Regions from separate parts of the Homo sapiens genome. Here regions 2 and 3 are each linked to region 1. The links are contacts of gene promoters, found by promoter capture Hi-C in human tissues and cell types (Jung and others, 2019). All regions are on one chromosome and are shown on one strand. The core of a region is centred on a gene start or on the middle of the fragment in contact, and the rest is flanking DNA. Distances in the headings are between cores, read along the strand shown. Region 1 holds the start of GIPC3 (GIPC PDZ domain containing family member 3). Region 2 overlaps CHAF1A (chromatin assembly factor 1 subunit A). Region 3 holds the start of STAP2 (signal transducing adaptor family member 2).

Region 1 (4,999 bases), core at 1,839-4,338:
CACCACGCCCGGCCTAAACTCTATTTTTAGGCATGGCTTTTGGAGTTCACAGCCACGGCAGGGCAGATTCTAGAACCCCATACAGCTCACTCTCCCTGGGACGTCTCTCCATGTGTGCTGGGGCACTTCTAGAATCTCTGTCTCTGTTCTATAGAACAACGCTATCCAAAGGGCCAACCCATGGCTACATGAGGAGAATGTGCTAGTGTGTAAATCAATACACTGTTTTCTTCATTGAGAAAGTCTAGTTATGAAAAAAAATGGGCAGGGTGCAGTGGCTCATGCCTGTAATTCCAGCACTTTCGGAGGCCGAGGCGGGCAGATCACCTGAGGTCGGGAGTTCGAGACCAGCCTGCCAACATGGAGAAACCCCATCTCTACTAAAAATACAAAATTAGCCAGGCATGGTGGCACATGCCTGTAATCCCAGCTAGTTGGGAGGCTGAGGCAGGAGAATCACTTGAACCTGGGAGGCAGAGGTTGTGGTGAGCCGAGATCACACCATTGCACTCCAGCCTGGGCAACAAGAGCAAAACTCCGTCTCAAAAAAAGAAAAAAATTAAAAATTAGCTGGCACGGCCAGGCGCGGTGGCTCACACCTGTAATCGCAGCACTTTGGGAGGCCGAGGTGGGCGGATCACGAGGTCAGGAGATCGAGACCGTCCTGGCTAACACGGTAAAACCTCATCTCTACTAAAATACAAAAAATTAGCCGGGTGTGGTGGCGGGCGCCTGTAGTCCCAGCTACTCGGGAGGCTGAGGCAGGAGAATGGTGTGAACCCGGGAGGCGGAGCTTGCAGTGAGCTGAAATCTAGCCACTGCACTGCAGTCTGGGCGACAGAGCTAGACTCCGTCTCAAAAAAAAAAAAAGAAAAGAAAAGAAAAAAGAAAGGAAAAAAAAAAGAAAAGAAAGAAAACTTTTTTCTCATATTCTCATTCTCTACAATCCACCATGACCTCAAAGCACTGCTTTAAAAGTTCCCAGGCTGCGCGCGGTGGCTCACGCCTATAATCCTAGCATTTTGGGAGACTGAGGCGGGTGGAGCACTTGAGGTCAGAAGTTCGAGACCAGACTGGTCAAGATGGTGAAACCCCGTCTCTACTAAAAATACAAAAATTAGCCAGGCGCAATGGTGGGTGCCTGTAGTCCCAGCTACTCGGGAGGCTGAGGCAGGAGAATCGCTTGAACCCGGGAGGTGGAGATTGCAGTGAGCTGAGATCGCGCCATTGCACTCCAGCCCAGGCAACAGAGTGAGACTCCGTCTCAAAAACAAACAAACAAACAAACAAACAAAAACAAGTCTCCCAGCCTGGCTCCAAAGTGGTTCTGGACGCGTCCTCCTCCAACTCCACTTTACCCAGTCTCTCCCCCACCCCTCCCCCACAGGCTGACTCCATAACAATCTATTAATAGAAACTACCTACGAGTTTCTGATACCCTGCCAGGAGCTCCTTGGCACGCAGCGGGTGCACCTAGAACCTTCCAGCCCGTCCCATCCCCGACCCTCCTCCACCCCAGGCATCCGTAGAACGCACTTCGGGAAGAGCTCCCGCCAGCCCACCCGCCTCACCGAAGGCCCTCTTGGGCTGCACCAGGCGCAGGGTGAAGGGCTGGGACTTGGGCAGCTCCCGGAGCATCTTGGCCACCTCGTAGTGGCGGCAGCCCACAATGGAGTGGTCGTTGATGGCTTCGATGCTGTCACCCACGCACACTGCCTCGATCCGGTTGATGATACTGCCTTCCTTGATTCTCTGCAGGGATCCAGCGTCGCTGGCAGGGCAACCCCAGCCACCCGCCTCCAATCCGCAGAACCCACGTCGACCCAGAGTGGGGGGGGCAGTTGCTGGACCCCAGGAAGCCACCCGCCCACCCCCTCCCGGGCACCTTGATGAAGGCGTAGCCAGCCCCGTTGTCCGTGATGGTCAGCCCCAGAGCATCCTCTGTCTTAGTGACCTCCACCTCCTTGGTCTCGCCTCGCACGTGGGCAAAGATGAAGTCCTCCAGGCCTATCTGACCCCCCAGGAGCTTCTGCATGTCCACTTTGTGGCTGTTGAGGGTGCAGAATAAAATCTTCCCGGGGGAGAAGGAGCCTAGAGTTAGCCAGGGCATGCATCCCCCCACGCAGCCACCCTGTCTGCGCAGGCCCCTGCCCCCAGCGACCAGGATCCCAGCCCATGGGAAAGGGCAGGGCGTGGGACCCCCAGAACAGAGAGAGGAGGGAGAAGGAGACTTCCAGCAGGTGGAGACCCCTCTCCATACCCCGGGACCTCCAGCCCCCAGACCTCCAGGTTTAATCTGCTGGCGCCCCCTGGGGGCTGCAAACCAAACGAACCCGGATTGGAAAAACGCCCAGGAACCCCCCAACCCCACGGCGGCCTCAAACTTCCCATCCCTAAGGGGGCCATCTGGAACCCCAGACCCCAGCTACGCCCAGGAAGCACAGAGGCGCTTCCCCGAGGGCTGGGGTCCGCTCCAAGCTAGGTCTGCGCAGAGGATTTTCTGGAATATCTAGGGGTCCGCTAGTCCTAAGACCTGCCCATCTTTTGCGCAGAGCGTGCAAAGGGGGCCCCTGGGAGTGTGGCACCCCGGGATCTGAGGGCTGGGTCTCTGAGATCCGGCGATTAGGCGGCCACCCCGACGTCTGGGATCCGGGGATCTGGGGTCTCCCGTCCAGGGTCCAAGCTCCCTACCCCTCACCCCATCAGGCGGGTGGTCTTGGGCGCCGGTGTCCGGGCTCCTTACCTCGGTGGGCGCGATCCCGAAGGCTTCGGCGATCTTGGCGTACAGCTCGCGGACGTTGGTGAAGCCCTCGATCTTGCCCGTGGGGCTCCCGTGCGCCAGCTGCGTGCGGAAGACGAGGCGCGGGCGGGCGCGGGGCGCGGCCGGGGGCTCCGAGGGCGCGGGCGGGGGCGCAGACGCGCGCGGGGTCTCGGTCCCCCGGGCCTCCCGGGCCGCTGCTCCCTCCATGGCGGGAGAAGTTCGGCCACCCACCCGGGCCCTCGCCGCCGCCGCCGGATCCGCCGCTTCCTGCAGCCTCCCCTCCCCCGGCCCAGGGCGCGACAGCCGAGACGCCCGGGTAAGGGGATCTGGGAACCCGAGCCTCCCGGGAAGGCGACACCGCGGGGTGCGCAGGGGTGGGTCGGGCCCCAGGTGTCCGGGCCCTGCCAGGGCCAGCTGTGCCCTCCCCGGGGATACCCGCAGTCCGGGGGGGCCTGAGCTCAGGACCCTGGAAGAACAGGGACCACAAATAAGGACAGGGACAGGCCTGGAGCGGTGGCTCACGTCTGTAATTCCAGCACTTTGGGAGGCCGAAGCGGGCAGATGACCTGAGGTCAGGAGTTCAAGACTAGCCTGGCCAACATGGTGAAACCCCGTCTCTACCAAAAATACAAAAATCAGCCGGACGTGGTGGCGGGCGCCTGTAATCCCAGCTACTCGGGAGGCTGAGATCTCTTGAACCCGGGAGGCGGAGGTGGCAGTGAGCTGAGATGGCGCCATTACACTCCAGCCTGGGCAACAAAGCGAGACTCCGTCGCAAAAAAAAAAAAAAAAAAAAAAAAAAGGACAGGGACAGCTGAGGGTGCTGGAGCACTCACCCTCTGCTAGGCGAGGTCATTGTTTTATTTTATTTTATTATTTTTATTTATTTATTTATTTTGAGCTGGAGTCTCGCTCTGTCACCCAGTTTGGAGTTCAGTGGCACGATCTCAGCTCACTGCAACCTCTGCCCACCAGGTTCAAGCAATTCTCATGCCTCGGCCTCCCCAGTAGCTGGGATTACAGGCATATACCACCATGCCCGGCTAATTTTTTTGTATTTTTAATAGAGATGAGGTTTCACCATGTTGGCCAGGATGGTCTTGAACTCCTGACCTCAGGAATCCACCCACCTTAGCCTCCAAAAAAGCTGGGATTACAGGCATGAGCCACCACGCCCAGCCTTTGGTTTGTTTGTTTGATTTTGGAGACGGAGTCTAGCTCTGTCGCCCAGGCTGGAGTGCAATGGCGTGATCTCGGCTCACTGCAACCTCCACCTCCTGGGTTCAAGCGATTCTCCTGCCTCAGCCCCCCTAGTAGCTGGGATTATAGGCGCACACCACCATGCCTGGCTAATTTTTGTATTTTTTAGTAGAGACAGGGTTTCACCATGTTGGTCAGGCTTGTCTCGAACCCCTGACCTCAGGTGATCCACCTGCCTTGGCCTCCCAAAGTGCTGGGATTACAGGCGTGAACCACCGCACCCGGCCGCATTCAGTTTTTTAAAATTTAATTTAGAAACATGATTAATTTTTTGTACAGTTGGGATCTCACTGTGTTGCCCAGGCTGGTCTCAAACTCAAGACCAGGAGGTTCAGGCCATCCTTCAGCCTTGGCCTCCCAAAGTGCTAGGATTACAGATGTGAGCCACTGTGCCCAGCTTCTCTTCAGCATTTAAAGCTACCATCTGACATATCAGATATTTTATTTTATTTTATTTTTTGAGACGGAGTCTCTCTCTCTTGCCAAGGCTGGAGTGCAGTGGCACGATCTCGGCTCACTGCAACCTCTGCCTCCCGGGTTCAAGCGATTCTTCTGCCTCAGCCTCCTGATTAGTTGGGATTACAGGCACCTGCCACCATGCCCAGCTAATTTTTTTTGTATTTTTAGTAGAGACGGGGGTTTCACCATGTTGGCCAGGATGGTCTCGAACTCCTGACCTCAAGGAATCCTCCCGCCTCAGCCTCCCAAAATGTTGGGATTACAGGCTTGAGCCCCAGCCCCCTGCTGATATTTCATTTCATCTTTTGTCCTGTTTGTCCCCAGGACTGGAGGAATGTCAGCTCCAGGAGGGTGGGGGCTGTTCCCCTGCTCTGTCCCCATGCCCAGTGTCCAGGGCACAGTGCCTGGCATACAGCAGGTGCCCAGTGATCTTTGGTGAGGAATGAACGGATGTCCAGGTCACAGATGAAGGAGGAGACCCCAGGCACCAGGAGGCGTTGGTAAAAATCCGCTGGAGTG
Region 2 (4,999 bases), core at 1,312-3,811, 830 kb before region 1:
CTATTCAGATGTTATAGCACTTAGCAATAAGTGAAAGACACAGGACTGGCCAGGCGCGGCGGCTCACACCTGTAATCCCAGCACTCTGGGAGGCCGAGGCGGGCGGATCACGAGGTCAGGAGATCGAGACCATCCTGGCTAACATGGTGAAACCCCGTCTCTACTAAAAATACAAAAAATTAGCCAGGCGTGGTGGTGGATGCCTGTAGTCCCAACTACTGGGGAGGCTGAGCCAGGAGAATGGCGTGAACCTGGGAGGTGGAGCTTGCAGTGAGCCGAGATCGCACCACTGCACCCCAGCCTGGGTGGCAGAGCGAGACTCTGTCTCAAAAAAAAAAAAAAAAAAAAAAAAGAGACAGGACTACAAGGAAATGGACTGGGTTTTTGGAAGGTAATTTGAAGCTACAATGGGATACTGAACCATTAAGACAGTGGTAGCACTATTGATAAAAGCTTAGAAAAGGCCACACACAAAACCTTAGGACTCACTCAGCAAGCCAAAAAATGACACAATCCACAAACCATGAAGTCCAAGTACTTAAAATGAAGCAGGAATCAAAATGATGGTCAGAGAAGGCTGGGGAAAATGTAAAAACTAGACCAAAGGAACTTCAAAGGGCTTTGCTTACTATTTAATGCAAAAAGCACAGCAGGTTAATTTTCTATTTCAGGGAAAATGTCTTACTCTTTGCAGTCTGAGCTTGTTCTTCTCTGTAGAGCCTTTGACGAATTTCTTAGTTATCTGAAAACAGAAGACGTTTATCTTTAAACACGGGTTATTTCAATTGCTTCGAGAAAAAGAGAAACCTTTCCAGGTGATCAGTTTTTCCACCAACAGAACCAAAATGTCATAATAGGGTCACAAACTCCAGTAAGTGTGCATACATGTGTGTATCTGGGATTAGATAACAAGAGAGACTACGGAGGCAGATAAAGAAATGAGTGAAGGACACCAAGCACAAGAAAAACAAGGCAAGCTCAGAAATAAAGGCAACAGACAAGGCTGGGCGCGGTGGCTAACGCCTGTAATTCCAGCACTTTGGGAGGCCGAGGCAGACAGATCACCTGAGGTCAGGAGTTCGAGACCAGCCTGGCCAACGTGGCAAAACCCCATCTCTACTAAAAATACAAAAATTAGCCGAGCGTGGTGGCAGGTGCCTGTAATCCCACCTACTCAGGAGGCTGAGGCAGAAGAATCGCTTGAACCCAGGAGAAGGAGGTTGCAGTGAGCCGAGATTGCGCCACCATACTCCTGCCTGGGCAACAGGGTGAGACTCTGTCTTAAAAAAAAAAAAAAAAAAAAAGCGACAGCTGGCCTGGGCGACAGGGAGAGGATGGATTTGTAGCAAAGGAGAGAGGACCTGCCTGTCCAAAGGAGATGGAGTTCTTACAGGAATATAGATCCCTATTTGCTGGTCCTTCCAATTTCTCCAAGAGAAGCTGATATTAGGAATTTCATATGAATTTTTTTAGGTGTTTAAAAATGGACACAGACGGGCACAGTGGCTCATGCCTGTAATCCCAGCACTTTGGGAGGTCAAGGCGGGAGGATCACTTGAGCCCAGGAGTTCAAGACCAGCCTGGGCAATAAAGCAAGACCCTGTCTCTAAAAAAAGCTTTTAGTTAGTCGGGTGTTGTGGTGCACATCTGTAGTCCTAGCTACCCAGGAGTCTGGGGTGGGAGGAGCCCGGGAGGTTGAGGCTGCACTGAGCTGTCCAACCTGGGTGACAGAGTGAGACTGTCTAAAAAAAAAATAAAAAGATACTAAATTAATCAAATAAAACATGTCTCCAGGCTGGTTTCCTGTGCACCACTAATTTACATTCTGTCTAGCTCAACTCTGCTTTTTATTTTAATGTTATTTTTGAGATGGAGTCTTACTCCTGTCACAGAGGCTGGAGTGCAGCGAGTGCCACGATCTCGGCTCACTGCAACCTCTACCTCCCAAGTTCAAGCGATTCTCCTGCCTCAGCTTCTTGAGTAGCTGGGATTATAGGCGTGTGCCACCACACCTGGCTAATTTTTGTATTTTTAGTGGAGATAGGGGTTTCATCATGTTGGCCAGGCTGGTCTCGAACTCCTGACCTCAGGTGATCCACCCGCCTCGCCTCCCAAAGTGCTAGGAATTCAGGCGTGAGCCACCGCGCCCAGCCAACTCTGCTTTTTAGAATGTGGAGTGAAAGCTTAAGACAAAAGGGAAACTTGCTGGGGTTTTCTAGGACTTCTACCTTCTAGGGCACAATATTTTCTATCACCTACCTTCAAACTGAGCATGAGCTACTAGGAATTACCAATAGGATCCATGGTGTGACTCACCATCCACCTAAATGGTCCCAGGAAGGAAGACGAACAGGGAGTCTGGACTTTGGCCTAAGCTATCTCCCACCGGGGCAGGGAATCCTGAAAACCAAACTAGTAGAAGTGAAGAGCAATGGGAAGAGACGCTTAAGAGTGGGAAGAAATAGTTCTCCGGGTTCATTGCAGACTTGCAGTGTAAGACTGAAGTTGACTGAAAAACCAAAGGCCCATTTTCCTGGCAATGGTCTGAGGGGTCAACAAAATTATGTAAGTGATTTCTTTTTTTTTTTGAGACGGAGTCTCGCTCTGTCGCCCAGGCTGGAGTGCAGTGGCGCCATCTCGGATCACTGCAAGCTCCGCCTCCCGGGTTCAAGCGATTCTCCTGCCTCAGTCTGCCCAGTAGCTGGGACTATAGGTGCCCACCACCATGCCTGGGTAATTTTTTTGTATTTTTAGTAGAGATGGGGTTTCACCATGTTAGCCAGGATGGTCTCGATCTCCTGACCTCGTGATCCGCCCGCCTCGGCCTCCCAAAGTGCTGGGATTAAAGGCGTGAGCCACCGCGCCCGGCCAACAGTGATTTCTTTATCTGGGAAAGCTGAACCCCTGACTAGGACCTCTCACAGAATAAAAGCTTCAGATGAATGAGCTCAAGACAGCCTTTCCACCTGGGTCCCACTGAGTCCTTTCTGGACTAAACCTTTCTTTAGGGAAAGGCCGAGCCGTTGTGAGAAGGCTGCCCGTGTTGGCAGGAGCTCTTTCACCACCGAGATCAGGCCAGGGTGTTCAGTCTTTGCTGAGAATGTGGCAACAGAAATGCCAGCCCGAGGCAGCCTCACCAAATGCTGCAGAAAAAGCATCTGTCTCTCCAGCATCTACTCTGCCTGCCAAGGCTGTGTGCCTCTCCCCCACGCTGAGGGATTTAACTGCAGAATATGGGAGCCGCAGCTCTCCGGGGCTGCCCTTTGTGTTCAGAGATTATAATACGGAATGTGGTCTTGGGGTGGCGGGGAATTCAGTTCCTTAGTCTTGCCCATGCCTGAAGCTCAGCTGCAGAATCTCCTGCCTCTTACAATGCCCCCCCTCTGCTGTGAGTCCAGAGATAACAGACTTGATGTGACTGGCAAGAGCCCGCTCAGTAATATCCAACAACCAAAACAGAGCAATTACTGCTTAATTTAAAACTGGTATCTTTTTTGCTTTGCCAAACCCTCAGATGGACCTTGAAGTCTGACAGAACTTTATCTTCTTGAAATTTGACCCAAGTGTTTATAGATCTCACTCTCAAAATTCTATGCAACACTCCCACATTCTACCCAGCTGGAGCCCGGTCAGACAGCACCCTCAACTGCCAAAAACGTGATCCAGGATCCCAGAAGGAAGCCAAAACACAAAAACCGACAATCCCAAGGAGTCGCGACAGAGCTCACTATGTGTGGGCATGAAAATTCCTGCACCCTTTCTCAGATAATCCTCTCAGAGCCTATGGACTCTGATTTTATACTAAAGGGTATCTAATTTCTAAGCCCAGACCAGATAAGCCGCTAAAACCTGACAGCAGGGGAGCGGAGGCAGGGGGGAAAAGAGAAAACCTCCAATTGGCCCAAGCATGAGAGAGTGCAAGCTGGGAAAATAAGAACGCACGCATTGCCTTGAGCTACCAAGACCTCATTCTCCTTAACAGCCCAAGGCCACTTGTAGAAGGAAGCTCAAGGGAACAATCATTTTGTGAAAGCCAAGCACAGAAACAGCAGAACTGAGAAAACAGCTCTGTAACCTACAGCATGTCCACACCATGGGATATCACGCAGCTGTTAAAAAGAGCTCCATCTTTCCATCCCAATATAAAAAACATCTAAGACACCCTTGAGTAACAAAGACAGATATTTACAGTATATGTCATACACAAGGAAACAAAATGATACTGGGTGTTTCCTAGAGATCTCTCTGGATATACAGGACACAGAAAAACACAAGGTGATGATGATGATAATAATGGCAACCTCCTGGGAGAACAGAGGGCTTCAAGGTTTCCATTCTTTTTCCTTTTTGTTTTTTTTTTTTTTTGAGACGGTCTGGCTGTTGCCCAGGCTGGAGCACAGTGGTGCAATCATGACTCACCGCAACCTCTGCCTCCTTGGCTCAAGTGATCCTTCCACCTCAGCCTCCCAAGGAGCTGGGACTACAGGTGTGCACCCCCATGCCCCGCTATTTTTTGTATTTTTTGTACAGACGGAGTTTCACCATGTTGGTCAAGCTGGTTTCGAACTCCTAAGCTCAAGCAATCCTCCCACCTCGGCTTCCCAAAGTGCTGGGGTTACAGGCTTGAGCCACTGCACCTAGACCAGTATTTCTTTTAAACATGGAGAATTTATTACAAATGTAATTTCAAGTATATGGAAAGAAGTTCCAGCAATCTGGGCACAGAAGCAAGCCAAAGATTCCAGTAACACAACTGCACCAACATGATCATTTGTCAAATAATCATCTCGATCACTAACAGAAGAGGCTAAATCACAAGTCTGATTGCAAACTTCAGAAATGGTTCTTTCCCACATGGTAGAAAACTCTAATACTAAAAAGGAACACTTCAGCTATTCAAAGGACCCTGGGAGTATCTAAAGGGGGATCTTTTTAAATCATTGTTTCTCCAAAGTGAGATTCTCCAGATCCTGCAGTACTAAAACAACAACAAAAACCA
Region 3 (4,999 bases), core at 1,289-3,788, 750 kb before region 1:
GCACAGTGGCTCACGCCTGTAATCCCAGCACTTTGGGATCACTTGAGGTCAGAAGCTGAAGACCAGCCTGACCAACATGGTGAAACCCCATCTCTAATAAAAACAAAAAAATTAGCCGGGGGTGGTGGCAGGCACCTGTAATCCCAGCTACTCCAGAGGCTGAGGCAGGAAAATCGCTTGAACCCGGGAGGCGGAGGTTGCAGTGAGCCGAAATCATGCCACTGCACTCCAGCCTGGGCAAAAGGAGCAAAACCCTGTCTGAAAAAACAAACAAACAAAAAAACGAAACAAAAATCAACTCTCTGACCTTACTTAGTATAGCTGATACTATCAACTTTATCAGACAGTTCAGTGGATGAACACATTGCCACAGTCCCACGGCCTTTCTGTGATTTCTAGAACACCTGTTCTGCTATGTATACAAAGTCTAGCCCTGGTAACTACTAAGGAAATTGAATTTGTAATTTAAAAACTCCCAAAAAAGCAATCTCCAGACCCAGATGGTTTCACTAAGGAATTCTGCCAAAGGTTCAAAGAAGAATTAACACCAATTTCACATCATCTCTTCCAGAAAATTGAAGGGGACACTTCCCTGTTCATTTTATGGAACTATGACCCTGATACCAAAACCAGATAAAGACGGTACAAAGAAAGCAAGCTACACCCCATATCCCTCATGAAGACGTGCAAAAATCCTTAACAAAATATTACAAAGTAGAATTTAACAATATATAAAGTGAATTATACACCATGACAAGTGGGGTTTACTCCAGGGACCCAAGACTGATTCAGTATTCAAAATTAATCAATTGTCCACCATATTAAACAGGCTGTGGTAGGCAGAATAATGGTCTCTTAAAGATATCCACGCCCTAATTCCCAGAATCTGTGAATACGTTAGGATACGTGGCAAAGGGATTTGAAGATTAAAGATAGACGCCAGGCACAGTGGCACACACCTGTAACCCCAGCACTTTGGGAGGCCTAGACTGGAGGATCACTTGCACCCAGGAGTTCAAGACTAGCCTGAGGGCCGGGCACGGTGGCTTATGCCTGTAATCCCAGCACTTTGGGAGGTCGAGGCAGGTGGATCACAAGGTCAGGAGATTAAGACCATCCTGGCTAACACAGTGAAACTCCATCTCTACTAAAATAAAAATACAAACAAATTAGCTGGGCATGGTGGCACGTGCCTATAATCCCAGCTACTCGGGAGGCTGAGGCAGGAGAATTGCTTGAACCTGGGAGGCAGAGGTTGCAGTAAGCCGAGATCGCTCCACTGCACTCCAGCCTGGGTGACAGAGTAAGACTCTGTCTCAAAAAAAAAAAAAAAAAAAGACCAGCCTGGGCAACATAGCAAGAACCTGTCTCTAGTAAGTGTAAAAATTAGCTGGGCGTGGTGGCAGGCACCTGTAATCCCAGCTACTTGGGAGGCTGAGCCAGGCGAATGGCATGAACCTGGGAGGCGGAGCTTGCAGTGAGCCGAGATCACGCCACTGCACTCCAGCCTGGGCTACAGAGCGAGAGTCTGTCTCAAAAAAAAGAAAAAAAAAAATTAGCCAGGTGTGGTGGCATGCAACTGTAGTACCACCTACTCTGGAGGCTGAGGCTGGAGGATCACTTGAGCCTGTAAGGTCGAGGCTACAGTGAGTCATGATCGCCCCACTGTACTCCAGCCTAGGCAACATAGTGAGAACTCATCCTTAAAAAAGGAAAATAAATTAGCTGGGTGTGGTGGTGCCCACCTATAGTCCCAGCTCTTCGGGTGGCTGAGGCAGGAGGACCGCTTGAGATTGGGAGGTCAGGGCTGCAGTGAACTATGATCGTGCCACTGCACTCCAGCATCGACAACAGAATGAGACACCGTCTAAAAAAGAAAAATTGCAGATGAAATTAAAGTTGCTAGTCAGCTGACTTTAAAATAGGGAGAGTAGCGTGGATTATCCAGGTGGGCCCAATGTAATCATTAGGGTCCATCAAAGTAAGAGAAAGGGCCAGGTGTGGTGGCTCATGCCTGTAATCTCAGCACTTTGGGAGGCTGAGGCGGGCAGAAAACTTGGGGTCAGGAGTTCGAGACCAGCCTGGGCCAACATGGGGAAACCTCGTCTCTACTACAAATACAAAAATTAGCCAGGCGTGGTGGCGGTCACCTGCAATCCACGCTAGTCAGGAGACTGAGCTTGGACTCAGTCTCTGAACCCGGGAGGCAGCGCAGTCTCTTGAACCCGGGAGGCAGAGGTCGCAGTGAGCCAAGATCATACCACTTTACTCCAGCCTGGGCAACAGAGTGAAACTCTGTCTCAAAATAGGAAAAATAGATAAATAAATAAATAAAGAGACAGACCATGTCTCTGTCTTTGCAGATATAGCGAAGATTATTCTCCCATTCAAGTAGACTTATACATTCTCTCTGTTCTCAGTTCCACACCGGAGAGGCGGGGATTTCCCTAGGATCACTGGACCTGCTGGGATCAGCCTCTGCCCAGCCCTGGCAGGGGAGGGAGTTGACGGGCTGACACAGGAAACTCCCCTGAAACCTGTTTCTCAGCTTCCCGGCCCAGCTGGGGCACCCACTGGAAGGAGAGGCCAGGCGGAAGACCCTGGCTCCGTCATGGCCTCTGCCCTGAGGCCACCCCGTGTCCCCAAGCCTAAGGGTGTCCTGCCTTCACACTACTATGAGAGCTTTCTAGAGAAGAAGGGGCCCTGTGACCGGGTAAGGTGGGGAGGCGGGGGCTGGCCCTGCTGGGCCACCGTGGGGAGCTGCGGCACCTCTCTGAGTCCCTGTCTCCCCACTCGCCAAGGGGGGGCGGGGTGGGTGCTGGATGGGGCAGGACACGTGCTGGGGGACTGGGGTGGGTTCTGGCCATCTGCCTCTCTGTGCGTCTATCTCTGTCTCCGTGTGTCTTTGAATTTGGTTTCTTTTTCTCTTTCTCTCTCCCTGGCCCCGTCTGTCTCTCCCGATGTCTGTCTCAGTCTCCCTCTCTCTTTGTCTCAATCTTTGCTTTTGTCTCTCGTTCACTCTCTTGAATACAAACAAGATCAGGGACTTCCTCCAGGAAATGGGGAGTCCTCTGACTCCCGAGCTTCCTCCCGCTCCCAGCCCAGGAAAAACTCCGTGAACCTCAGCTGCTGGGGCGAAGGCCAGGACAGGTGACATGTGAGGACAGTAAGAGCTAGCGGGGGCCACATTCCACAGGACAGATAGTTGCCATGGACAGTGCGTGCATGTGTGTGTGTGTGTGTGCTTATGTCTCCCTCAGAATAAAGTCCCAGCCCCTCCGTTCCCCGTGAGGCCCTATCTCTCCTTCCCAATGCCGCATATTCATTTTCTTTCTTTCTTTTTGTTAGAGACAGAGTTGCTCTGTCACCCAGGCTAGAGTGCAGGGGCACGATCATGGCTCACTGTAGCCTCAAACTCCTGGGCTCAAGTGAACCTCCCGCCCCAGCCTCCTGAGTAGCTGGGACCACAGGCATGCACTGCCTCTTCTGGCTTTTATTTTATTTATTTATTTTTGAGACTGAGTCTCACTCTGTCACCCAGGCTGCAGTGCAGTGGCACCATCTCGGCTCACTGCAACCTCCACCTCCCAGGTTCAAACGATTAAGCGATTCTCGTGCCTCAGCCTCCCGAGTAGCTGGGATTACAGGTACGCACCACCACACCTAATTTTTGTATTTTTAGTAAAGACAGTGTTTCATTTTGTTGGCCCGGCTGGTCTTGAACTCTTGACCTCAGGTGATCCACCTGTCTCGGCCTCTCTAAATGCTGGGATTACAGGCATGAGCCACCGCACCCAGCCTTTTTTTTTTTTTTTTGAAGATGGGGTCTTGCTGGCCAGGCGCAGTGGGTCACACCTGTAATCCCAGCACTTAGGGAGGCTGAGGCAGGTGGATCACCTGAAGTCAGGAGTTTGAGACCAGCCTGGCCAATATGGTGAAACCCCGTCTCTACTAAAAATACAAAGATTAGCCGGGCGTGGTGGTGCGTGCCTGTGATCCCAGCTACTCTGGAGGCTGAGGCAGGAGAATCACTTGAACCTGGGAGGCAGAGGTTGCAGTGAGCCAAGATCGTGCCACTGCACTCCAGCCTGGGCAACAGAGCAAGACTCCGTCTCAAAAAAAAAAAAAAGATGGGGTCTTGCTATGTTGCCCAGGCTGGTCTCAAACTCCTGGCCTTAAGTGATCCTCCTGTCTCAGCCTCCCAAACTGCTGGGATTAGAGGTGTGAGCCACCATGACTGCCTCATTTTCTAATACAGATCAAAACAAACACCCCCAGCTCCTCCCTGCCCATGTCCCCGCCTCTGCCCCTGAGGTTCCCTTACCTGTAGTGGAGTAGACTTTCCTTCTACCTCCATACATCCAAATCCTCCCCAACCAACAAACCCTTTAGAGCCAGTAGATCACTGCAGTTAAGAAAGATAATGGGGGAGGCCGGGCTTGTGGCTCACGCCTGTAATCCCAGCACTTTGGGAGGCCGAGGCAGGCGGATCACCTGAGGTCAGGAGTTCAAGACCAACCTGGCCAATATGGTGAAACCTCGTCTCTACTAAAAAATACAAAAATTAGCTGGGTATGGTGCCAGGCGCCTTAATCCCAGCTACTTGGGAGGCAGAGGCAGGAGAATCATTTGAGCCTGAGAGGCGAAGTTTGCAGTGAGTCAAGATCAAGCCATTGCACTCAAACCTGGGGGACAAGAGCGAGACTGCTCTCAAAAACAAAAAGAAAAAAAAAAGAAAAGAAAGATAATGGGGGCCGGGCGTGGTGGCTCACGCCTGTAACCCAACACTTTGGGAGGCCGAGGTGGGAGGATCACTTGAGGTCAGGAGTTCAAGACCAGCCTGGCCACATGATGAAACCCCATCTCTACTAAAAATAAAAATAGCTGGGCGTGGTGGTGTGCACCTGTAATCCCAGCTACTCGGGAGGCTGAGGCAGGAGAATTGCTTGAACTGGGGCGGGGGGGTTGCAGTGAGCTGAGATGGTGCCACCGCATTTCA

The links. Contacts are between HindIII fragments. The study calls those that stand out against the background at their distance.
Region 2: a contact is called between a fragment that was not itself captured here and the fragment with the promoter of GIPC3 in region 1, in 1 of the 25 tissues and cell types used here (dorsolateral prefrontal cortex).
Region 3: a contact is called between the fragment with the promoter of STAP2 here and the fragment with the promoter of GIPC3 in region 1, in 1 of the 25 tissues and cell types used here (H1 embryonic stem cells).

What each region holds. Positions count from the first base shown.
Region 1 is chr19:3,583,567-3,588,565 of GRCh38, reverse strand. GIPC3 (GIPC PDZ domain containing family member 3) reads right to left here and starts at 3,088. Exons shown (of 6, transcript NM_133261.3): 1 at 2,744-3,088; 2 at 1,886-2,071; 3 at 1,572-1,752. The coding sequence starts at 2,968. The HindIII fragment of the contact is 10,668 bases long and covers 1-4,999 here.
Region 2 is chr19:4,413,763-4,418,761 of GRCh38, reverse strand. It overlaps CHAF1A (chromatin assembly factor 1 subunit A), which reads right to left. Exons shown (of 15, transcript NM_005483.3): 4 at 686-742. Among named protein-coding and RNA genes, the nearest start is that of CHAF1A, 14 kb to the right of the region's middle. RefSeq lists an enhancer at 4,958-4,999. The HindIII fragment of the contact is 3,051 bases long and covers 1,036-4,086 here.
Region 3 is chr19:4,336,366-4,341,364 of GRCh38, reverse strand. STAP2 (signal transducing adaptor family member 2) reads left to right here and starts at 2,538. Exons shown (of 13, transcript NM_001013841.2): 1 at 2,538-2,713. The coding sequence starts at 2,612. The HindIII fragment of the contact is 19,957 bases long and covers 1-4,999 here.